Linked DNA regions of Homo sapiens: regions 1, 2, 4, 5, 6 and 7 are each linked to region 3. Evidence: promoter capture Hi-C in 16 types of primary human blood cells and fetal thymus (Javierre and others, 2016). All regions are on one chromosome and are shown on one strand. The core of a region is centred on a gene start or on the middle of the fragment in contact, and the rest is flanking DNA. Distances in the headings are between cores, read along the strand shown.

What was found. Contacts are between HindIII fragments. The CHiCAGO score rates a contact against its expected background, and 5 or more counts as called.
Region 1: a fragment that was not itself captured here is called in contact with the fragment with the promoter of DNAJB11 in region 3 in 1 of 17 cell types (fetal thymus); the score reaches 5.1 in fetal thymus.
Region 2: a contact is called between a fragment that was not itself captured here and the fragment with the promoter of DNAJB11 in region 3, in 13 of 17 cell types (non-activated CD4 T cells, naive CD4 T cells, fetal thymus and 10 more). The highest score is 25.1, in non-activated CD4 T cells.
Region 4: a contact is called between a fragment that was not itself captured here and the fragment with the promoter of DNAJB11 in region 3, in 1 of 17 cell types (activated CD4 T cells). The highest score is 7.4, in activated CD4 T cells.
Region 5: a fragment that was not itself captured here is called in contact with the fragment with the promoter of DNAJB11 in region 3 in 1 of 17 cell types (total CD4 T cells); the score reaches 7.1 in total CD4 T cells.
Region 6: a fragment that was not itself captured here is called in contact with the fragment with the promoter of DNAJB11 in region 3 in 1 of 17 cell types (total B cells); the score reaches 5.4 in total B cells.
Region 7: a contact is called between a fragment that was not itself captured here and the fragment with the promoter of DNAJB11 in region 3, in 5 of 17 cell types (non-activated CD4 T cells, total CD8 T cells, naive CD4 T cells and 2 more). The highest score is 7.9, in non-activated CD4 T cells.

The regions. Positions count from the first base shown.
Region 1 is chr3:185,814,323-185,817,692 of GRCh38, forward strand. All of the region lies in intron 2 of IGF2BP2 (insulin like growth factor 2 mRNA binding protein 2), which reads right to left. Among named protein-coding and RNA genes, the nearest start is that of IGF2BP2, 9.0 kb to the right of the region's middle. The HindIII fragment of the contact is 1,154 bases long and covers 1,176-2,329 here.
Region 2 is chr3:185,944,602-185,948,376 of GRCh38, forward strand. No RefSeq gene overlaps it. Among named protein-coding and RNA genes, the nearest start is that of TRA2B, 8.5 kb to the left of the region's middle. The HindIII fragment of the contact is 4,953 bases long and covers 1-3,760 here.
Region 3 is chr3:186,569,291-186,572,715 of GRCh38, forward strand. It overlaps DNAJB11 (DnaJ heat shock protein family (Hsp40) member B11), which reads left to right and starts at 1,430. Exons shown (of 10, transcript NM_016306.6): 1 at 1,430-1,675; 2 at 2,805-2,961. The coding sequence starts at 1,608. It also overlaps a transcript of TBCCD1 not described here. RefSeq lists a silencer at 1,442-1,681. The HindIII fragment of the contact is 6,099 bases long and covers 1-3,425 here.
Region 4 is chr3:185,989,244-185,992,701 of GRCh38, forward strand. No RefSeq gene overlaps it. Among named protein-coding and RNA genes, the nearest start is that of TRA2B, 53 kb to the left of the region's middle. The HindIII fragment of the contact is 1,906 bases long and covers 367-2,272 here.
Region 5 is chr3:187,112,189-187,115,753 of GRCh38, forward strand. No RefSeq gene overlaps it. Among named protein-coding and RNA genes, the nearest start is that of RPL39L, 26 kb to the right of the region's middle. The HindIII fragment of the contact is 1,384 bases long and covers 1,293-2,676 here.
Region 6 is chr3:186,046,384-186,049,764 of GRCh38, forward strand. ETV5 (ETS variant transcription factor 5) reads right to left here. Exons shown (of 13, transcript NM_004454.3): 13 at 1-2,477. The coding sequence ends at 2,256. Among named protein-coding and RNA genes, the nearest start is that of ETV5-AS1, 31 kb to the right of the region's middle. The HindIII fragment of the contact is 971 bases long and covers 1,185-2,155 here.
Region 7 is chr3:187,138,901-187,142,422 of GRCh38, forward strand. It overlaps RPL39L (ribosomal protein L39 like), which reads right to left and starts at 596. Exons shown (of 3, transcript NM_052969.3): 1 at 313-596. RefSeq lists enhancers at 1-308, 177-276, 317-466 and a silencer at 507-736. The HindIII fragment of the contact is 485 bases long and covers 1,975-2,459 here.

The DNA.
Region 1 (3,370 bases), core at 503-3,002, 750 kb before region 3:
TTATTCATACAATGATAAAGAAAAACATCCACTGAAATTTCGAAGTATGCATTGTTAAAAATCACAAGGATCAGTAGGGACCAAAGTAAAAGGTCTCCATGTAATCCAAAAATACTATATAGCCTATCCTCACATGAGCTTTTTCAAAAACACCCTCTATTTAATGAATTGGTATGAGGTTAACCTGTCCAAAGAATCACCACTCGATTTTTTGTTTCATTTTTCAAAGAGAAAGAAAAGATATAGTAATAAAAATGTCTTTCCTGGTAATTTTTAAAGCTCTATTAGAGGTTCTTGACTGAGGAAAGTAATTATTTTATCTCATAAATTATATAAAATTATGTTCTTGTCAAAAAGCATGGCGTCTATCTAGAAGAAAACCTCTTATATATCTCATTTCATTGGTGGTTTAACTGTATCTTAAGTCCTATGTTACTAAACCAAAAAAGTAACAAAATGCATGAGATAAAAGTAACAAATGCATAAGATACTTAAGTATTGTATCAAAAAGTGCTTTCACTGACTTTTTCACGTGTCAAAGAGGTTTAAAATGTTCTGTTAATAAGGTGAACCATTTTCTAAAAAGCAATTTACAAAAATTCCATTATTTTCCTTCTCTAAGACACAGATATTTTTAAAAATACATATAAAAATGAAAGCATGCCAATCTTTGTGCAACATTCTGTATCCTAAACAAAAAAACCTCAAGTTTTTTTTCAGGATTTGAAAAAATATATATATCTGGGTCAAAGGCATGGAACAGGCCCTCCTCCCACACTGCATACATGTATGTTTTTTACACTTAACTGTCAACCACAATGATTTTTAAAAAAACCTCTTTCTCTTTATATAATTATAAATGCTTCTACTATAGGACTACTTCAAGGAAGTTCTTTCAAATTATGACTAACACTTTTAATTCTTTTCAATTATATTAAATTAAAAATATACTGAACTTGAGTTCCTAATCTTTCTCAGCATAGGTTTTATATATGGAAATTTTCTCTTATTCTAAGTTAGGAATAATATACAAAGTTACTTTATAGCCTGTATACATATTATCACAACTTTCTACTTCATTGCTAAGGTTCTGTTGCAGTATTCAAATGAGATGGACAACAAGCCACTGCCTTCTGAAGTTCTGGTCAGGAGCAAGGAGTTATTTTAGAGTCTGAAGCTTTAGAGCCCTTTGTGTAAGAAGGATAAAGACGGATCTCTTCAGGCTGTGGGGAGGATAAAACAGGAAGCCTAGTCCAGTGCCTAGCACGTAGCAGCCACCCAGTATTAGTTAACTCTCTTCCTCTCCCCCATCTCCTGAGTCAGAATTCCACGGAAAATGCCATATCCCACTCTGGACTGTACTAACTCAAAGAAATGCATGGGGAGTTGGAAATAACCTTCTTTCACCTATTTTTTTTTCCTTGATAATTCCTCTCTCCCTCCCACCAGCACCATAAACAGTCCATAAGAGTTAAAGGAAACGAAGATAAATGCAGGAAAAGTTTACAGTTGAGGGGAAATGAACTGTACTTCACATGCTTCATTATTTAGCATATTTTTTTGTGCGATTATAAAATTAATAAAGAACTCAGAACTTTATGGATACTATCCCTATTAACACTCACCCCATAGTCAAGACAGTATGAGAGGCCCAAGGCCTTATTCAGTACAGAAAGTGACGTAGAGAAAGATACCACCTCTGGGAAAGACCTGGCAGTTCCTACCAGGGAAACACGTAAACCACAACACAGCCCTGACCTTTGCAACAGGCTGTCTGAACCCCGTGAAGAACCCACCCAGGAGATTCCTTGAGCTAGACTTTCATTCACCACATGGCACATAGTCTTGACCCGGGTGACAGTTCGCTGTCTAATCTGTGTGGCTCAGATGTTGAAAGAAATGTTTGTCTTGTTATGTCAGGAACACAACTGCCGAAAAAAGCAACATAACAACAACAACAACCCCACAACCTGCTTAGGTATATTCCCCACTTCTGTCTGTGGGCAAGCACAGAGATGGGAAGACGTGCAATGCTACCTTTAAAATTACCTCTATTTCTAACTATTTTTTTCTAAAAACTATAGCAAAGTACAGATCACTCAGACTGATGTAGCATCATTGCAAAGGTTCAATTCACAAATGTATTTTCATATATTTCTACCACCCTCGAACAGCATTCTTCGAACTTTACAACACATTCAGCTGACTTCTTTAATGTAAAACGTTAAATGGGGAGGAAGTACAGTGGAGCGAGACTCAGGGACCTCAAAAGACCTGGGTTCTAGCCCTACTACTTAATTAACAGTCATGTGGCCTAAACAAATTATTAAGCTTGTCTGGGGCTGAGTTTCCTCATCCAAAAAAAGAGATAGTATCAATTGTCCTATTTTTCACAAAATTATTATTTGGAATAAATGAAATAATGTGTCAAAGAGGCTGGAACAGCATCAGTACTGTATGAATATTAAGATGCAGGCAAAAAATACTCCTCCCTGAGATAATACTACTACCATTGTTTAAATATCAATACATGAAATCATCAACCTTTCTGATCACATTTAAAACAAAAATTTAAAAATTCAAGCTTCCCACTACAGCAAATCCTTACTTTGAGACACATTAATTACATGACAATAAGAAAAACTGAAAATATAATTCTTATTGCAATGTTCCCATACAAATTTTTCTGGTCATTAGATGCAACATTTATTTTGATATGGGTAAATAAGAGAAAGCTCAAAACATACATCAGAACTCTTAATTTTCATTTATCAGACTTATTAAAATATCTGCTTTATTTATGAAATGTCCTTGACACTAAACAGAATGGGAAAATCCTATCTGAATGTTCACATTTTAAGAAATAAAGTGTAGAACAGATAAATAATGAGGAATAAACAAAATGTATCTCAAAAATACAGATATTATTTAGTGAAAAGCAGAGGCTTGGGGAGGAGACATAACTATCAAATGATGGAACAGGGCTAGCTTTTGGGCTTGAATGCCTCCTATTAATGCAAAAGCATCCATTTTCACTGTTGTACTTATTCTATCTCAATATACCATCAAACTCTAAACCAAATTAAAGAAATAATTATTGTATTCCTTCTTCCCTTTGGCAGCCAAGCAACAGAATCTGAAGTTTTCTACAAAAGAAAATAATTTTTCTTCACTATTTTATGGAGAGACCAGACTAAAGTCCATGATCAAAACAGGAAAAGTAAAACCTTAAAAATAATGCTCTGAGCACTCTGCAATTTTGCTGCCTAAAATAGAACCCATAGAGTCCATGCCACCAAATGAAAATTATAAGTTTGTAAGCATGAAGTCAAATTATAAAGTAAAAGATTTAAAATGTTTTAATGGTGAT
Region 2 (3,775 bases), core at 34-2,533, 620 kb before region 3:
AAGAACAACATTGAGTTACTATGCTGACTATGGCTACGTATTGTAGATAATTGAGTTGAAACAACCAATCACTTTCAATGTTCTGAACCCTAAAAAAGGTGGATCACCTAAGGTCAGGAGTTCGAGACCAGTCTGGCTAACATTGTGAAACACTGTCTTTACTAAAAAATACAAAAATTAGCCGGGCGTGGTGGTGCATGCCTGTAATCCCAGCTACTCGGGAGGCCAAGGCATGAGAATCACTTGAACCTGGGAGGCAGAGGTTGCAGTGAGCAGACATCGTACCATTACACTCCGGCCTGGGTGACAAGAGTGAAACTCTGTCTCAAAAAAAAAAAAAAAAAAAAAAAAAAAGAGAGAGAGGCCGGGTGCGGTGGCTCACACCTGTAATCCCAGCACTTTGGGAGGCCGAGGTGGGCGGATCATGAGGTCAGGAGATCGAGACCATCTTGGCTAACTCGGTGAAACCCCGTCTCTACTAAAAATACAAAAAATTAGCCGGGCGCCGTGGCGGGCACCTGTAATCCCAGCTACTCAGGAGGCTGAGGCAGGAGAATGGCATGAACCCGGGAGGCGGAGCTTGCAGTGAGCCGAGATAGCGCCACTGCAGTCCGGCCTGGGCGACAAAGCAAGACTCCTTCTCAAAAAAATAAAAAAAAAAAGAGAGAGAGAGAAGAATGAAATAAAAGACTTTCTCCAGATACTTAAGATAAATCTGGGAAAGAGAGGAAGAGAATAAAAATTAGAATACCCAAATAACAAAATTTAGAGCTCAAACATTAAACATATGAAGAAAATGTTTTGTCTTAGAATTATTATTATGTTACTAATATAGGGTGGGGATAAAAATTCAAACAATAAGAAATGTGCAAAGTGAAAAATGCAAACCCTATTTTCTATCCTCTCTTTCCCAGTCTCGCTCCTCAGAGGTCACCCTAGTTAAAAAATGTAGTGCATAACCTTCTAGACCTTAGATAGATAAATTTAAATTTTTATTTTTATTTTTTTATTATTTATTTATTTATTTTGAGACGGAGTCTTGCTGTCTCCCAGGCTGGAGTGCAGTGGCAAGATCTCGGCTCACTGCAAGCTCCGCCTCCCGGGTTCATGCCATTCTCCTGCCTCAGCCTCCCAAGTAGCTGGGACTACAGGTGCCTGCCACCACACCCGGCTAATTTTTTGTATTTTTGGTAGAGATGGGGTTTCACCATGCTAGCCAGGATGGTCTCGATCTCCTGACCTCACGATCCACCCGCCTCGGCCTCCCAAAGTGCTGGGATTACAGGCATGAGCCACTGAGCCCAGCCTTAAAATTTTCTTTTCATAAACAAATGGAATCATGCTATACATATTTTTTATTTTTTAATTTTTATTTATTATTTTTTTGAGACAGAGTCTCACTCTGTTGCTCAGGCTGTTGTCTCGAACTCCTGACTTCAGGTGACCCACCCGCCTCAGCATCCCAAAGTGCTGGGATTGCAGGCATGAGCCACCATGCCCCGCTCATATTTTTAAATTTTAACATGGTATTCTGTAACTTGCCTTTTTCACTTAGCAATCTAAAATATGCTAAATATTGTTCCACGTCAGTACACATAGATTTATCTCATATTTTAAAACAGTTGTATGGTATTCCGTTGCAAATATGTGCCATAACCTATTATACCATTCCTATTTATGGAGACCTGGAGGGTGAGAAGCCAGCCATTTAAAAAGCAGAGAAAACTGTGTTCCTGGGAAGGGATTAGCAAGGTCACAAAGGCACTGGGGTGAGGATGTTTGTCGGGTTCCAGGAACAGAGAGACCCAACCATGGGATCCCAGTGGGTCCATCTGAGGACCAGAGACTGTGGTACAGAGAGCAGGGCTTGGACTTCCTGGGGTTGTTTCCTGCCTCCACAGTAGCTCTCTGAGAGACCCTGGGCAAGTGTAACCTCTGTGCCTCTGTGGCTTCATCTGTGAAATAGGAATGATAATAATACCTACTTCCTATGCTTGTTGTCAGGATCCAAAGAATTACTATTTTACATAAAAAGCCCTTAGAACAATGTCTAACTCATAATAAGTCAGCAGTGATTATGCAGGTCATGGAAAGGATGTCAGATGTTATTTAAGTGCAGTGGGGGCTGGGCACGGTGGTTCACACCTGTAATTCCAGCACTTTGGGAGGCCAAGGCAGGTGGATGGGTCACTTGAAGTCAGGAGTTCGAGACCAGCCTGGCCAACATGGCGAAACCCCGCCTCTATTAAAAAAATACAAAAATTAGCCAGGCGTGGTGGCAGGCACCTGTAACCCCAGCTACTCGGAAAGCTGAGGCAGGAGAATCTCTTGAACCCGGGAGGCAGAGGTTGCAGTTAGCCAAGATCGTGCCACTGCACTCCAGCCTGGGCAATAGAGTGAGACTTTGCCTCAAAAATAAATAAATAATTAAATAAATGCAATGGGAAGCTATCGAAATGTTTTAATTAGGGGGAATGTCTTGACTCAGTTTTTATTTTTATAAGATTACATTCCCCATTGGATGGAGAATGGGTTGGAAGGAGGTAAAAGCTAGGATACCAGTTAGGAAGCTATTGCATTTGTCCAGGTAAGAGACCATTGCAACACAGTAATAGCAAAGGAGATAGAGAAAAAAGGGCAGTGGTAGATCTATTTTGAGTCCAGAATTGAGTGGACTTGTAATAGGGTAAGGGGATGGAGATGTCAAGAACTCAAGAGGGTCTATGGTGCCCCATACTGAGATGGGGAAACTTGAGGAAGAAGGAGTTTGGGCAGGGCTAAAGGGACAAGAGTTTGATTTTGAATTAAGTTTGAGATGCTTTGAAACATCAAAGTAGAAGTTGTCAAGTAGGCAGTTGAATATACAAATATAAAACTGGATATTCTTTAAAATCTTATTATACATTTGGAAGTTATAAATCATATTTGCTTTCATCCATGAATTTTTATTTAACATGGAGTAATTAAGTGACTAATTATACACTGAGCACTGAATTTTTTTGTTGGCAATGGAATGTTGTAATTGGCTTTTTTGTCCTGATTATGAAAGTGATGTTATATCTTGCATGTATAATACTGGCTGCATAATATTCTACCATATGGCTGTACATAATTTATTTAATCATTTTCTTTGTTTTTTCTAGTTTTTCAACATTTTAAATAACAAAATTGAGTATTTTTGTATATAAATTTATATCTGAGTTTTAAACTTTTTTGCTTAAGATAGATTCCTAAAAGAAGAATACTTAGAGAAAATACTTTGTCAACAAGTATCATCTTTTTTAGGACTTTTGAAACATATTGTCAACTTACTTTCCAGAAAAGTTGCATTAATTTACACTCCTAGTAGCAATGACTGTTCACTACACCATTGCCATCATAACTAAAAAGTTTTTTAATAGGTGAAAAATAGCATTTTGTAGTTTTAATTTGCATTTCTTTTACAAGTGACATGGATCATCTCCGCTAATCCCTTACTGCTTTTACCATGAAATGATGATGGCTGTGGTTCTCCCTGCCTGCTGTGCTCTCTCCACCCACACTATCTCCTTCACCTGGTTGATTCCTACCCATTCTTCATCTTTCATCTCCAGTGACACCCCTCAGTATTGACTGCCTTCCTCTTGCCTCCAATAATATGTCTGATTTTTTTGATAGATGTTCTCATAGACTTGTGATCTTCTGAGCCACTTCTTTCTACTTGAAATTATATATTTACTAATGGAATTGTTCAATTAATGCTTATTCCCCCAAAACTCTAAGCTTCAGGAAGGTA
Region 3 (3,425 bases), core at 180-2,679:
ATGATTTGACTTTTATTTTTTATTTATTTATTTATTTATTTATTTTGAAACGGTGTGTCACTCTGTCGCCCAGGCTGGAGTGCAGTGGCAGGAACTCGGCTCACTGCAACCTCCACCTCCCAGGTTCAAGCAATTCTCCTGCCTCAGGCTCCCGAGCAGCTGGGGTTACAGGCGCTCGCCACCACACCTGGCTAATTTTTGTAGTTTTAGTAGAGACAGGGTTTCATCATGTTGGCCAGCCTGGTCTCAAGCTCCTGACCTCAGGTGCTCCGCCCGTCTCGGCCTCGCAAAGTGCTGATTACACTTTGGGTGGGTGAGCCACCGCGCCCGGGCTTTTTTTTTTTTTTTTTAAATCATGGAGTGAGGGACAGGGATGAGCAACATATATTAAGATATTAAGGAAGATATTAAGAGTGGGGGCAAGGAGGCCAGTTAGGAGGCCCTGGCCAGGTGAGAGATACACTGTGACCCAGAATCCTGGTAATGGAGATGTAGTGAACAGATTGAAGTATAGTTCAGAGGTAAAGAGTTGGATAGCTTATGCATGAAAGGAATAAAAACACCTAGAGCTTTGTCCTGATCAACTAGGTGTTGTGTAACTGCGATGAGCAAAATCGGGGGGAAGATGGGGAATCAAAGAGTTCTGCTTGAACCGTAATAATGGTTTTTACTCGTTGCCTGCTTACTATACGCCCGATGATTTACCGATTTTTTTCCCTGTTAAAATTCACAGAACTGCCAATAAGTGCTTTGCCTCAGTTTTGTTGATAAACTTAGGCTCAGACTTGGGAGGAGGGGAGGGGTGGGGGGTCTCACCACTAAGAAGCGGTGGAAGCCGAATCCGAACTTAAGTCGGTCTGTCATCACTGTAGCCTTTCCGAGACAGTTGTCTTATGGAGTTGCTTGGAGAACGTAAAATAAGAGGCCTAAGCAATGCGTCTGATGTACACCTGTCGTGGAATAACTGTTCCCGCTCATTCGGCCGCTGTACCTCTGCTCCCTCATTCGGAGCGTAGCTGGGTATGAATGAAATTCCGGGCTTGTAGCACAGAGAAAACTTCTCTCCCACAATTGGTTGGTGCTGGGGAGGAAGCTCCTGATTGGTGGAAAGTCCGAGGAAGTGGGCAAGCCGGAGGGATTTCGTGTACCTCAGGTGCCCTCACTCTGACCGGCCCCCTATCATTACGTAATTTTCTACGACTCGCGGTAGCTCAGGCAGAGCGGGTTCCTGCAGCGGCGCGACCCTCTGACGTCTCCGCTTCTAATTGGTCAAGAGCTGCGACTGCAGTTCTGAAGCCTAACTGGTTGCCCGTGCCGCCTCGGAGGTGAAGTGTACTGCGCTGATTGGCTTCCAGGCGCCGGCCGCGTGTGATGTCCCGGGCAACGATTGGCTCTCGCCTACCGGGGGCTTCTCTCACCGGGACTCGGGACTCCCGGGAAGTGGACCGGCAGAAGAGGGGGCTAGCTAGCTGTCTCTGCGGACCAAGGAGACCCCCGCGCCCCCCCGGTGTGAGGCGGCCTCACAGGGCCGGGTGGGCTGGCGAGCCGACGCGGCGGCGGAGGAGGCTGTGAGGAGTGTGTGGAACAGGACCCGGGACAGAGGAACCATGGCTCCGCAGAACCTGAGCACCTTTTGCCTGTTGCTGCTATACCTCATCGGGGCGGTGATTGCCGGGTGAGGAACAGACACTCGCAGACAACGGGGCCTGTGGGTCAGCCTTTGCTGGGGGGTGGGAGGGGGTGGGGGAAGTGGCATTGCCAGACTGACGGAGTGGAGAGGGGCATCGCTGTGGGTTGGCGGGGTGGCGGAGGAAGGGGTAGTATGGGCCAGGCTAGTGGGGTGAGAGGAGAACCGTGGGTGACACCAGTGAGAGGGCCTTAGGTCCAGAGAGGGTCTTAGGTAGAGCTAGATTTGCCCAGAGGAGTGGGAGTTGGATGCATTGCCAAACGGCATTTGGGGGATGAGGGAAAGAAGGTGGTTGCGAGCTGAAGCAGTGTCACGTAGAGCTGGGGAAGAAAGAGGGATGCCTGACTGTAAGGAAAGATAGTGACAGTGCCAGGCTGAGGTTGAGGGGATGGACGTTTGTTTGATCAAAGAGGTGAGTTGCTGTGCCCCGCTGAGGTGGAGAAGCGGACGATGCTCTATGCCAAGCCTTCGAAGAGCCATTCTGGGGCTGACATTAAAGTGGGTGGATGATGCCAGCCCGAGTTGGGACTGAACGAAATTGGATGCGGGATGGGAACAAGAAGATCTTTAGACAGCCCTTGTACTTCCCAGCTTCTTGAGCTATTTATTATCTTAAGTTGCTTCATCTTTAACATTCTGGCAGTGCTACTGTTAGGACATTTATGTGGCATAATCTTTTTAAAGAAGGAAAATCATCCTTTGAGAGTGTTATTTGACTTTTAGAAAAGTCAAAATCATTTGGAGCCAGTATAGGGAAAGGGGGGAAGAGTTAATTTGATTATATGGTTATTGCCTAAAGATAACATGAGACCATAAAATAAGGAAGTGGTTTTCTTGACCGAAGGTGGTTCTGAAAGAAAAGTGCCACAGATGTTTTGAATAATCCGAAAAGAAGTATATAGCCTCTTACTGTGATTACTTCAATATATAAGATTCATTACAAATTCTGGTGTTCTCTCTTTAGTCATTCTTTGTGTGTGTATGTGTCACATAAACCTTCATTTTTATACCTCTTTGCTCAGATACAAACCTAAATGTAGAGGAAAAATAAATCTTTTACTTTGAAAAATGTAACATGTAACTCTTTAATGAAGTATTCTCTCCCTCTACTTCCCAGACGAGATTTCTATAAGATCTTGGGGGTGCCTCGAAGTGCCTCTATAAAGGATATTAAAAAGGCCTATAGGAAACTAGCCCTGCAGCTTCATCCCGACCGGAACCCTGATGATCCACAAGCCCAGGAGAAATTCCAGGATCTGGGTGCTGCTTATGAGGTGAGTTGGGAAAAGTGATAAAGTACGAATAAAATCTGTAGCTCTAGAAAAAACATACAATACAGAGAAACACTCCTTTCAGCTCACATTTATTTATTTATTTATTTATTTTGAGACTGAGTCTCTATTGCCTAGGCTGGAGTGCAGTGGTGCAATCTCCGCTCACTGCAACGTCCACCTCCTGGGTTCAAGCAGTTCTCCCGCCTCAGCCTCCCAAGTAGCTGGGATTACAGGTGCATGCCACCACACCTGGCTAATTTTTGTATTTTTAGTAGAGACAGGGTTTCACCCTGTTGGCCAGGCTAGTCTTGAACTTATTATAGATTAATAAGTAGATCAACTGATTGGTCTGTCGTTCAATCAGTTTGGGAGCTAGAACCAAAAATAAAAAGAAAGCCTTCATGAGAGTTGCAAACCTGCATGTTCATATGAACTAGACAAATAACATGCAGGGCAGGTATAAG
Region 4 (3,458 bases), core at 70-2,569, 580 kb before region 3:
AGCTCACTGCAACCTCGCCTCCCAGGTTCAAGCAATTCTCCTCCCTCAGCCTCCTGAGTAGCTGGGATTACAGGCATGCACCACTACACCTGGTTAATTTTTGTACTTTCAGTAGAGACAGGGTTTTGCCATGTTGGCCAGGCTGGTCTTGAACTCCTGGACTCAAGTGATCTGCCCACCTTGGCCTCCCAAAGTGTTGGGATTACAGGCATGAGCCACTGTGCCCGGCCCTGTCTTTACATTTTAGTCAAATCAGACTGAAGCCTGAACAAATGTGTAATAAAGTGAAAATTCTTTGAAACCATGAGTCTGAAAGCTCCCTTGGGGATGAGCTCCTAGCTTGCCTCTCTTGTGTGGCTCGTCTGAAGCTTGCAGATGGCAGAGGCCTGTGAGGTTCCTGTGAGAAACAGCAAGAATTACCAGGAGCTGGTGTGCCTGGAGCATCTGCATTGTGCAAGGTACTTAACCCCTTTATCCAGTCATCATAACCATCTCCTGAGTTCAGAATCATTATCAGCAGTGTTTGAGGGAACCAGCCCAGAAAGGTGCGGAGTCAGCCCATTCCTTGCAGAGCATACCTAAGATTATTCGACTCCAAGGCCAATTTTCTTTCCATTGTACCATAGTGTGAATGAGCATTAGTTTTCTGTTCCCTGATTTCCCACCTACCAGCAGGAAGCAGAAAAGTGCAGAAATGGTCTTGTGCTTTTGTCCTCCTGAGAACCCAGCAGTGGTAGCTTTCCTGTAGAAACTCAGAAAGGAGAAGTTATGGGTTCATGATAGCCATGATTATAATAAAATGGTTCCAGGAAACTGAACAAACCAACAACAACAGCAACAAAACCCGAAATGGCTTGCTCTTCTTCTTATGCTTCACTTTAAGCTAAATCGGCTTTCTGATATAAAATGGCCTTCCTTTCTGTTTCAATTCTTCCATTGGCAAGTCTTGGGCAAAGGGTGGATTGACGAAGAAAGGAAAAGGGGAGCAAGTGGTCCTAAGAGCTAAGAGCTGCCCTTCTTCTTTTAAGACACCTGGTGAATATTCCCTCCTCTTGCTTGTGTTTTATTTCAGCCTGTCTTCCCCAGGGCTCCTCCAAGGTTCTGACTGGTCAGCCCACTACTACCTTGGTACTTACCCTTTTTCCAGAAAAAGAGGTATTCCTTGAGGTTACCAAATCGGTTCTCCTCAACTCTCCATCTCCAGCCAACACCTCTCACCCAACGCTGCCCTGTGTTACCCCATTTACCCCCACTACTTTTTTTTTTTGAGACAGAGTCTCACTCTGTTGCCTAGGCTGGAGTGCAATGGCGTGATCTCAGCTCACTGCAACCTCTGCCTCCGGGGTTCAAGTGATTCTCCTGTCTCAACCTCCCAAGTAGCTGGGATTGTAGGTGCCCACCACCACAGATGGCTAATTTTTGTATTTTCAGTAAAGACAGGATTTCACCATGTTGGTCAGGCTGATCTTGAACTCCTGACCTCAAGTGATCCACCCACCTCGGCCTCCCAAAGTGCTGGGATTACAGACGTGAGCTACCACCAGTAACTTCTATAAAGCTCAACAAGGGTAAAGTCAAGGGCAAATCTCCTCCCTCAAACCAACTTCTTTCTTTCTTCTCATCTTTAACAGGGCCACTGCCAGCATCCAGGAGCCCAGGCTTGCAGTCAACGACTCTTCCTTTCCCATTAACTCCCATAGTCTGTCATTCACAAATTCCTATTTGTCCTTTCTTCCAAATGCCTCTTGCATTTCTTACTTTTCTCTCACTCCCTCTATCTTCATCCTAGCCCAGAGCCTGCCCCTGGGCTGGTATCCCCATAGACTCTTCCTTTTCTAAACTATCATTCTACTCCATTCATCTATTCCTTCATTCATCAGAAGAGCATCTGTGGAGCACTTAGTGCCAGACACTGCGCTAGACACTAGATGCACCCGTAACACAGACATGGTCCAGCTGGGGAGGCAGGTAATTGACAGGCAACTACAGTGTCTTGGGGTGAGTGTGATGATGGAGGAAGCCCTTAGCTGGGACCGTAATCCAGATGGAGAGACGTGTTGGGGAGGCCTACACACTCCTACTGGTTTCATTGTCCTAAACACTTTTATCCTGTTTCAACTAAAATTGACCTTCTCTTACTTTTGTTCCTTTGGGTTCAAACTTTGTAACCTGAGATTCTAAGGCCTTCCTTGTCAACCAAGCCTCATTCCCAGGACCCTCTAGTGGAAGAGGTAGTAGTAACAATGATAGTAATAATAGCACATCTTCATTAAGCTTATTTATCTTAAATAACAGGCCCTCTTCTAAGTACTTTTCTTATGTTAACTCTTCACAACATTCTCTATGAAGGAGGTACAGGTACTATGATTAGCACCACTGACAGAAGGGGAAACCGAGGCATGAGTGCTAAAAGGCAGAATCTGGGTTCAAGTCCAGGTGGCATGGCTTCCAGGCTGGCATGTGATGATGACACCATTGTGTATCAGTGTAACCTGGCCGTGTGGACCTCAGACTCTAAATCATACATCCTAAGTTCTCCCCAAAGACCTTTTTACTCCTGATCCCCTCTCCCCTGAGAATGCCCTTCTCTTTCTTATCAAACGCTATAGAAGGTTTTATTTACATATAAAAACAGAGCCTTCTTCCATGGAAAAGGCACTGGGTCTGGACTCAGTTCGATGTTCAAATCTTGTTTCTGGCTGCCAAATCCTTTCTTCTCCCTGACTCTCAATTCTTCCATCTCTGCAATGGGAATATTACTATTCTCCTCACACAGCCATTCTGAGTATGATGTGAAAATAATGCATGTGAGTGTGCTTGGAAAACTGCAGTCCCATACAAATTTACAGGAATCAACATCATTTTTTTCCTCTGGCTTCTCAAAATAAGAATGTTGTTATACAGTCTGAACTTCACTACAGCAAAGTTTGCTTACACATTCCACTGGGCATGGGACTATCTTTCTATACCTCAACTTCATCATCTGGGCAATGGGCATAATACCAGCTGCTTTATAGAAACATTTTGGGAATTTAATGAATTTTTTTGTTTTTTGAGACAGAGTCTCACTCTGTTGCCCAGACTGGAGTGCAATGGTGCGATCTTGGCTCACTGCAGCCTCTGCCTCCTGGGTTCAAGTGATTCCCTTGCCTCAGCCTCCTGAGTAGCTGGGATTACAGATAGGAGCCACCATGCCTGACTAATTTTTGTATTTTTAGTAGACACGAGGCTTCACCATGTTAGCCAGGCTGGTCTCAAACTCCTGGCCTCAAGAGATCCGCCCGCCTCAGCTTCCCAAGTACTGGGATTACAGGCGTAAGCCACCGCGCCCCGCCAACAATAGTGTTTTAAAAGAATTAGATGCATAATAGACATTGAAGAATGTGTGTTGCCTGTCTTCCCCAAAGCTTGGTTTTTCTCTAGCTGCTGGGGATGAATCAGTTTTGGTTCTCATTAGA
Region 5 (3,565 bases), core at 735-3,234, 540 kb after region 3:
ACAGGGTTTCTCCATGTTGGTCAGGCTGGTTTCGAACTCCTGACCTCAGATGATCCACCTGCCTCAGCCTCCCAAAGTGCTAGGATTACAGGTGTGAGCTATTGCACCTGGCCTCTTTCCTTTTCTTTAACCACCCCCCTACCCTGGAGTTAATGATTACATTTTTTTGTTTGCTTAGTATTCTTTTGTAATATCACCAGTTTATCCCCAAATTCTGACACAGCTGTCAAACTTTTGTTGGTACAATTATTTATAAATATTAAATATTCTATAAGCTTCTTTTTAATCCTTCCTTCCTTTCTCTTTCTCTTTTCTCTTCTCTTTTCTTCTTCCTTCCTTCCTTCCTTCCTTCCTTCCTTCCTTCCTCTCTCTCTCTCTCTTTCTTTCGAGACAGAATCTCACTCTGTCGCACAGGCTGGAGTGCAGTGGCATGGTCTTGGCTCACTGTAACCTCTGCCTCCCTACCTCAAGCAATTCTCCCACCTCCGCCTCCTAAGTCGCTGGGACTACAGGTGTGTGCCACCACACCTGGCTAATTTTTGTATTTTCAGTAGAGACAGGGTTTTGTCACATTGGCCGGGCTGGTCTTGAACTCCTGACCTCAAGCGATCCGCCCGCTTTGGCCTCCCAAAGTGCTGGGATTACAGGCATGAGCCACCACGCCTGGCCTATAAGCTTCATTTTGGAGGGGAGTCTCTGGGGGCGCTGTCTCTCCTGAACTGGTGATCTCTAACCCTACATTAAACAAGTGTTCTCCTAGAACTTCATTTCATCATCATCTTAGGAATTTCCTTTGCTCCTCTGTGAATCTTGTTCCTTTTTCCCTCACACTGCTTCTTTCTTAGTTTACATCTCCTTGCTTTTGTGGGACATACCAGAACGTGGTTTTTAGAGAGAGAGGGCACATGGGAGGAGGCAGCAGGGTGAAGGTGGGAATGGATGGCTCAGAGGAAACATGCCATATAAGGAAATGTGAAGTTATCACCTGACAGTAATGCAAGGACACCGTGTTGTGTGCTCTTGGAGGTTCTTCCTTCAGAGACAATAAATTTCAACTATACTGGATTTGAAAGGTAAAGCCTTTAAGATAGAGCTTTATATTTTTTGGTGTGCATAACAGGCTTGGATATCTCCTGGAAGACACACTATTCCTCCCCCAAGTACCAAAACACAATCATTAAAGAAGCTGTACTTCACCACATTGACAGAAGAGGGCACCATTAAATGAAGAATCTTGTAAATTAGCCCACATCCACAAAAAGAATTACAAAAAATGGAATAAATCTATGCAAAGCTTCTTAAAGAAAGAGACTCAACACACCTCAAGTGATAAAAATTTTCCACCACTCCAAGGGAGGTAAATACAAAAATGACCATGAAGCAGAGGAAAACTGCAATGCTACACTCCAGACTCAAATAACCTCAAACAAGTATAGACATGTGAAAAGCTATACATATATATACATATATGTGTATATATGTATATATATGTATATATGTGTGTATATATGTATATATTTGAACCTCCCAGGTTCAAACATAAATTTTAGAACTATATTTATTTTTTGAACCTCCCAGGTTCAAGAGATTCTCCTGCCTTAGCCTCCCAAGTAGCTGGGATTACAGGTGGGCGCCATCACACCCAGGGAATTTTTGTATTTTTAGTAGAGACGGGGTTTCACCATGTTGTCCAGACTGGTCTCAAACTCCTAACCTCAAGTGATCCACCTGTCTTGGCCTCCCAGAGTGCTGGGATTACAGGCATGAGCCACTGCGCCTGGCCTGAAAAACTATCTTTAATCAGAAATTAAAATATAAATGGATTTAGAAAAAAATGGGAAGTAATGAACAGTGTGTTGATTGAACTCAGAAAGAAAATAAAAGAAAAAGAAAAATAATCTTAGGATTGAAACATAAATTTTAAGAGGGTACTTATATTGGTTTCCTAGGGCTATCTTAACAGATTACTATAAACTGAGAGCTTGAAACAATAGGAATTTATTTTCCCACAGTTCTGGAGGCCAGAGGTCTCAAATCAAGGGGCTGGCAGGGCTTGTTTCTTCCCGAGGCTCTGAGGGAAGGGTCTGCTCTATCTCTCCTTCATAGCTTCTGGGGGCTGCCAGCAATCCTTGTTGTTCTTTGGTTTATAGATGCGTCACTCTAATCTCCACCTTCCTTCCCACATTACCATCGTTTCTATGTGTCTTCTCTCCTTCTATTCTAAGGATACTTGGAATTGGAATTAGGGCTCAACCAGAAAACCTAGGATGATTTTATCTTGAGATACTTAATTACACCTGCAAAGACCCTTTTTCCAAATAAGATCATATTCCCAGGTTCTGAGTAGACATTTTTGGGGTGTGGGGGTGGGCGTGGTCATCATCACCTCGCTATAGCACCCAAAGGAGAATGTACTCAGATGGAAATTTAATATGGGCACTGAACAAAGGCAAACAAGCAAGAAAATGAAATGAAATAAAGAAGTGAAATGGGTCAGGAAGAAAGTGATTGACAGGGAAGACAGTCCAAAGCAACACTGGTATAACTGGAGTACATGAAGAAGAAATAGCAAACAATGTAACTATCATTTAAAACTATAATTGAACTGTTGAACTGGGTGACAGGGTGAGACCCTGTCCCTAAAAAAACAAAAACAGAACTGTAATAGAAGAAGAAAGCTTTCCAGGAGTAAATACAGGTTTAACTTTAAAAATGCCCAAACTATTCCCTATTTTTTATTCCCACCAGCAATGTATGAGAATTTCAGTTGCTTTGCATCCTTGACAGCACTTGCTATTGTCAACTGTATTCTTTTGCTTTTTTTTTTGTTTATTCATTCTTATAGGTCAATAGTGGTATTTTACTGTAGCTTTATTTTGTATATCCTAAAAATGATGTTAATTGCATATCACTATGAACCTCTTTTAATGTGCTTATTTGCCAACTACATATCATCTATGATGAAGCGTCTGTTCAAATTCTTTGCCTGTTTTATAAATTGTTGTTTCCTTATTATTGAACTTTGATAGTTCTTTTTATAATCTGGATATAAGGCTCTTATTTGATATATGTAGTATACAGAGATATCTAGAGAGAGCAAATATTCTGCTTCTGATGTTACTTTTCATTCTCTTAATGTCTTAAAGAGAAATGATTTTAAATTTAATAAAGTCCAACTTATCAAGTTTTTAATTTTATGAATTGTGTTTTTGTTGTCATATTTAAGACACCTCTGCCTCACCCAAACTTAAGAATATTTCTTTTATGCTGTCTTCTAGAAGCTTTATACCATTAGATTTTACATTTAGGTCTATGATCCCATTAGAGTTTATTTTTGTATATGGTACAAGATATGGATCAAGGTGGGTTTTTTTTTTAACATGTAGATGTGCATAATTTGTTGTAAAGACTATCCTTTGTCCACTGAATTGCCTTTGCACCTTTGTCAAAAGTTCATTGATCCTCTATGCATCGATCTATTTTTTAAATTTCCTGTCTTGTTTCTTCATTCTACTTGTCTATCTTACTTCACCAAGCCTACATTAGCTCAATTACTATAGCTTTA
Region 6 (3,381 bases), core at 420-2,919, 520 kb before region 3:
ATACGGCCCTGCGCAGGGGAAAGTATTTCAAATCAGCTGGCAGGTTCAAGCCTTTCTGCACTGTAGACTTTCCACACTCTGGAAAAGAAGCAAACAAACAAACCCCAAAGAACCCCCGAAAAAAACAAAAACCATCCGGGAGGTGCATGAGTCCAATGGGAATGCAACCGTGATGCCGCTGTCCTATGCCCAGTGACAGCACAGGTCACGTAAGTTACAGCAGGGGAGGGGTAGCTCAAGCTACAGAGGATTATTGTCATATTGCTAAGACAGCATAAATCCATTCAAAAGAAAAAAAAAAAAAATCCAAACCAGGGTAAGTAAAGAAAGGAAAACCAAATCTATACAGCATTTACAACAAATAAATCTCTAGCCAGCTGGGGGTAAAATATGCATCTATGTATAGACTATGTGTAGGTTAAGAAAGCTATAAATATGGTTTAGAAAGAGTCCTTTGATTAGAGTACAATGCTAATTAAGGCCCAATCTACAGGTTTACCACCTTTGTGGGCTAATTAGCTTCCAATAGAGGAGAATCTCATGTTTCCATAGCTATAAAGTGCACCCCTTATCCCTGCGAACCTCTTCACAAATGTGCTGTTGGTCATAAGGGGGACAGTTTGAGACTATGGAGTGCTCCATGAATAGAAAAGCAGTTCAAAGCACGTGTCTCACACTCACGGAGTCAGCACTGCCTCCTTCACATACGAGGAACAGTGTAGTCATTCTTAATGTACTAAGTGTCACGGGGAGCACAGAATTCTACCAGCAGAGCAGGCAGCAAGGTACCACCAGTAACTTTTCCTCTACTTTGAGCTCAACTTTCACATAGCTTTAGCTTGGTTGTTTAAAACTTTTCCAATATAATACAGCAATGAGAATAATTTCTTTTTAAAAAAAGGCAGGAATCTAGAATGCTAGCACTGTTGCTTACCTGTCAGTATCACACGTAAGTCTCAAACCCTACTGAATCACACAGGTAGGGTTTAAAGTCCAAGATTTAAAGAAAAAGGAAAACAAAACAAACTGATGAAATGGAAATTGTCATCAGTCATGCCCAGGGAAGAATCCCAAGGGTTTTCACCAGGTGACCAGGTTTCCAAAGGACATGACACATGTTATATACATATGCTTTCCAGAGAGGGCATGTTAGTGAACACGGGGAACTATACATAGAGAATCTAAGCTTGTGTCCAGGCTGCCCTGCACACTTCAAAAATGTACAACTCAGGTGCAAATGTTCCATCAGGTTGTCTGGTGCAGAAAGCACAAAGCAGGCAACAAGGCGGGCTTTCACATGGCCAAGGGGAAGCCTCAGCAAAGCCCCTCTCAAGCTGCAGTGTCTTCATAAGTTGGCACGGCCCTGGCTAAAGGACACAGTGCACAGTTACCAAAAGGTTTGTTTTTGTTTTTTGTTTTTCGTTTTTTTGCTTTAAATACCAAAACTACAAAAATCAGTTTATAAACTGTTTTTCCAAAACAACCACCAAAACAAAACAATCCCCCAAATCAGGGCAAAACAAAATACTGTCAAAAGTGTTAATCGCCCTTCTCCTAAAATAAAAGTCATCCACACTCAGCCACGTGATTGGGAAGAGAAAGGGGGCTTGCTCTACTTGGCGACCACATGGCCGGGTGGTTCCCAAGAGTAGCCATGGTTTATGATTTTGAGAACCACGGAGTGGGGAACAGCTGTTCTGACTGCCCCCCTTTTTCTAGACAAGGGGTAATATTTCAGATTCAGCTAGAAGAGCTTTCCAATGTTTAAGATGTATTTTTAACCCTTAATGGTTTGAGCCTCCCCAACTTAGCCTACTTACTTTTCTATGGGTTTGTGATTTTTCAACAAATTGTGCAAATCAGAGCCCTTCTATGTAAAGGCATTTAGTAGTCCATGATCGATGCAGATTGTCACATACTATGTCCCGTTTTGCGGGTACTAACCTGAACAAGATATTGCTTTGCATGTATTGTCCATGGTAAGGAGACTCCATTTTGATCTCTTCCCAGAAACCTCATCAGAATCAAGAGTTGAGGCACTGGCCTTTTGGTGGTTTTCTGCCCCTCCCTGTTCCCACTCCCCAGCCAATGTATCTGTCTTTAAGGGTGCCAATCCAGAGACAGCTTGGGTTCTCCAGATAATACTCAAAGGGCAAGCTTTAGGAACAACCAAAAACACAAACAAAACCACTGCCCTTGTTTGCCTGAATGGGAACTGCTAGCTCTAGGGTTTGGCCACTCCGCCACTCAGAAACTTAGTAAGCAAAGCCTTCGGCATAGGGGAGGCTGCTGCAGCGGTCCATGTCCAGGAGGTAAGCGGGGCTGTCTTCAAAGTGGGTCAGCGGCAGGGTGTCCTCCTCGCTGAGGTGGCACTCGGACTCTGCCTTCAGGAACGGACGCTGGTTATCCGGGAAAGCCATGGAGAAGAGGGCATCTGGGTCACAGACAAATTTGTAGACGTATCGCTCTCCAGCCACCTGCGGGAGAACACACACCTTACAGGGCCCAGTTGGAACAGGGCATGGGATCAGGGGAAGAGAACGAGGTATTCCTAAGTCACAAAGCCAGGGACCAAAGGAGCAGCCGATTACCCCAATCACTCAGACTTATTTTGAGAACTCCTGGGAACCTATTATCTGCCAAGTGTTTTACTGACACTACAGCAGTTAAAAAAGAAGATATCTGAATTTCGAATTCACACTAGATGGACTCTTAAAAGAAAATCTTCACTTTCTGTCTTCCAGTGACAGCTTTGAAAGCATGGTTATGCTGAGCCTGGAGTCTGGTGTTCCAAAAAGGTTTAAGGACTGACAGGTGCAAGGCAGAAGCCTGACCACATTTTTAGTCACTTCCAGAGTTTACAGTCTTCACAGTATGGCCTTGTTATTTAGAAAGGTTAGAAATCTGATGAGAGCGAGCCTGCGCAGAAGCCTTAAGTATGTTCCAAAGCTGAAAAGAATTGCTTTTGGCTTACCTGCAGCTTTAAATGACTCACCGCATGGCTCTGCTACACTGAGGGAACCGCTAACTACCTTTCTATGGGTTTTCTGCATTATAATATTAGAACCAGAAGGTCTTGGTTGTTCAAGGACCTCATGGTATGTGGCTGATGAGACATCTGCGTCAATGGGATCACCTTCTCTCTGCTGGTTGTTCAGCAATAGTACAAGAGGCACCTAATACCGAAAATCAAACCCAATAATCGGCTTCTGTCTGGAGACGCAGAGGGGGAAGGGAAGGCAGCCAAATTTACTGATAAGATAAACATTTTAGATTTAAAAATGCAAACTGTTGAGTTTAATCCTGCCCTTCAGTCATTCTGCTGTGATTCTAAAATCTTTTTTTAATTGAACAAGTATGGCTCTGCTTCCACATCTCTAC
Region 7 (3,522 bases), core at 967-3,466, 570 kb after region 3:
ATACAAAAATTAGCCGAGTGTGGTGGCGCGCGCCTGTAACCCCAGCTACTCAGGAGGCTAAGGCGGGAGAATCGCTTGAATCCGGAGGCGGAGGTTGCAGTGAGCCGAGATCACACCACTGCACTCCAGCCTGGGCGACGGAGGGAGACCCTGTCTCAAAAAACAAACAAACAAACAAACAAACAAAAACGCTACTACTGTTGGAGTCGGCTTGAGCTGTGGCATTGTTGTTTCCAGCCCGTGACCCTCACGCCGCCCTGCTCGTTGGGCGGACCGGGCCCTGGCGGCGGGTGAGGAGGAACCTTTACTTACCGGCGCCCTGGCCTCTGCTTTTTTCCCACTCTAGGACGCAAATCTCGATCTGCAAGGGCCTGGGGCGCGGGCGGAAAAGGCGGGCCCAGCTCCCTCAGGTCTGCGTGTCACCGACCCGAACCCGCTCCGTCGTCCTGACGCCCCCGGCCTAGCTGCAGCCACCTTGTCGCAGGGGCCTTGGTGTCTCTGAGACTCCGAGACGCCTCGCCCCCACCTGGCGTTCGGAGGCGGTTGCCTCGCTGGGCGCAGCAATTCAACCGCCGCGCGCCGGATGCTAAGACCGCGATTTCCCCGGATGCTAGGGCGGTGATTTCCCCCGTGACAGGCCCCGCCCCGGCCCCGCCCAGGCCCGGGCGGTCCCGCCCCACTGAGCTGTGGCTCGGGGAGCCGTGGGTCCGACTCCTGCGTGTGATGTGTCACCAAGTTGACTTTGGGGTCCCCCATTCTTCCTTAGTTCTCTATTTTACCTCAGCGCGTTGTCTAGCTGCTGCCTGGCCACGGTACTTAGCACACAGCGTGACTTAATACTGGATAAACGAGGAAAGGATTCGTACGCCCTGGCGGGGCCAGAGGCTCACAGCTTGGGTTCCCGCGAGCACACGAGCCAGGAACCGCCAATGCCTCCAGGGGGCGCTCTCCCTCCCATCGAGCCACCGCCGGGCCATTGGAGACCAGGAGGACCTCTCAGCTCCATCCCTGCGTCTCTAACAATTGTCTCATTTCCCTGCCTGGAGTCAGTATTACCACTCCCATAACACAGATTTTTAAAATGCAACTAAATTTTAAACGAGTCACTTTATTTAAAAACAACATGAACAAAATGGGATTTCTGCTAATGCAAATATCTATACAAATTTAACGATTTTGGTTCTAATTCTAGATGAAAAGTCAAATCTCCTGTTACATATGAGAAAAGTCAAATCTCCTGTTACATATTAGAAGTTTACCTCTTGTTACCTTTACTGCAACTGCAATGGCAGTTTCAACTGTTTCAACCAAGTAATGTAGTTGGAAATGCTGTTATTAGAAGTATATCTTCCCAGCATTTCGGGAGGCCAAGGTGGGTGGTTTACTTCAGGTCAGGAGTTCGAGACCAGCCTGGCCAACATGATGAAACCCTGTCTCTACAAAAATACAAAAACTAGCCAGGCGTGGTGGCGGGTGCCTGTAATCCCAGCTGCTCAGGAGGCTGAGGCACGAGAATCGGTTGAACCCTGGAGGCAGAGGTTGCAATGAGCTGTACTCCAGCCTGGGCAACAGAGTGAGACTGCATCTCAAAAAAAAAAAAAAAAAAAAAAAAAAAAAAAAAAAAAAGTGGATATGACAGTTCGAATTAGATCTAAAACCTTTCCTAATTACACCAGTTAAATCATGAAATCATGCAATAGTAGAACAGGTGTCTTACCTACCTGCATTATCCTGTAAATATTGACATGTTATTCTACATAATCATAAACTGACCGATCACACATATCTTTAAATCTAATCATCATAACTAAAAACTGTATTTGAATAAAATTAGTGTATTTCTAAATCTGTCTTTAACAGACACAAAGATGTAAATTTGAAATGTCTTGGTAAATGAGGTTAACACAATATAAATATTTTTGACGAATTCATCATAATTTGTTCATTTTAAGGAGATTGATTTTATTTTCTTGAAGCTTAAGGAGGACTTTGACATTTTAAATGTATCTAAAATTTAAATTTTATTAAATTTTACATTTCACATTTCTTTTTTTTATTGATTGAAACAAGCATTTCACATTTCATATTTCTTTTTTTTATTGATTGAAACAAGCATTCCATAGTCATTTCAAATAGTGTACAAAGTATTTTAAAATGTTTTTCTGGCCGGATGCAGTGGCTCACGCCTGTAATCCCAGCACTTTGGGAGGCCGAAGCGGGTGGATCACCAGGTCAGGAGATCGAGACTATCCTGGCCAACATGATGAAACCCTGTTTCTACTAAAAATACAAAAATTAGTCAAACGTGGTGGTACGTGCCTGTAGTCCTAGCTACTCAGAAAGCTGAGGCAGGAGAAGCGCTTGAACCTGGGAGGCGGAGGTTGCAGTTTTTCTTCAAAGACCTATCTGATTTCCATATGCAGGATAACACATTCAAACTCTTATTTGTTGTTAATGTAAGCTTTAATTCATATAGTTGTTTTTTTTTTCTTTGAGGAGTCTCTATCGCCCATACTGGAGTGCAGTGGCACAATCTCACTGCAACCTCCGCCTCCCAGGTTCAAGTAATTCTCATGCTTTAGCTTCCCAAGTAGCTGGGATTACAGGTGCATGCCAACATGCCTGGCTAATTTTTGTATTTTTAGTAGATACAGGGATTCACCATGTTGGCCAGGCTCGTCTCGAACTCCTGACCTTTGGTCATCCACCTGCCTCAGCCTCCCAAAGTGTTGGGATTACGGGGTGAGCCACTACGCCAGGCCTGCTTTTAATTTTGTGAATGGTCTTGATAACATTTCATTGTTCATTGATTAAATTCATTGTTGTGATGTTTTAAGCTTGGTGACTTAATGTTGTTGATGAACAATGCAACTAGTTGCCAAAAGCCTGATATTACACTTTACTACCCAACTACAGCTGATGCTCAAATAATGACATTGGGATATGATTTTAAAATTTATTTTCCTGAAATAATGTGTGTGTCAAATCTTAACACCCCATTGTATTCCTTGTCAGTAACTTTGAAGACAACAACAACAAAAAACCTCCTTATCTTTATATCACTGTTTTGGCCTATTTGCATTGCTATAAACGAACACTTGAGGATGGATAATTTATGAAGAAAGATTTATCTGGCTCATGTTCCACAGGCTGTATAAGAAGCATGGTGCCCACATCTACATCTAGTGAGAGCCTCAAACTGCTTTCACTCATGGTGCAAGGGAAAGGGGAGCAACTTGTGCAGAGATCACATGGCAAAAGACGCAAGAGAGAGTAGAGAGGGAGGCTCTTTTTAAATATCAGCTCTCAAGGTGTATTAGTCCATTTTTACACTGCTAATAGAGACATACTGGAGACTGGGTAATTTGTAAAGGAAAGCAGTTTAGTTGACTCACAGTTCTCCATGGCTGGGGAGGCCACACAAAATTTACAATCATGGTGGAAGAGGGAGCAAACATGTTCTTCTTCACATGGCAGCAGCAAGGAGAAGTGCTGAGCAAAAGGGGGAAAAACCCCATATAA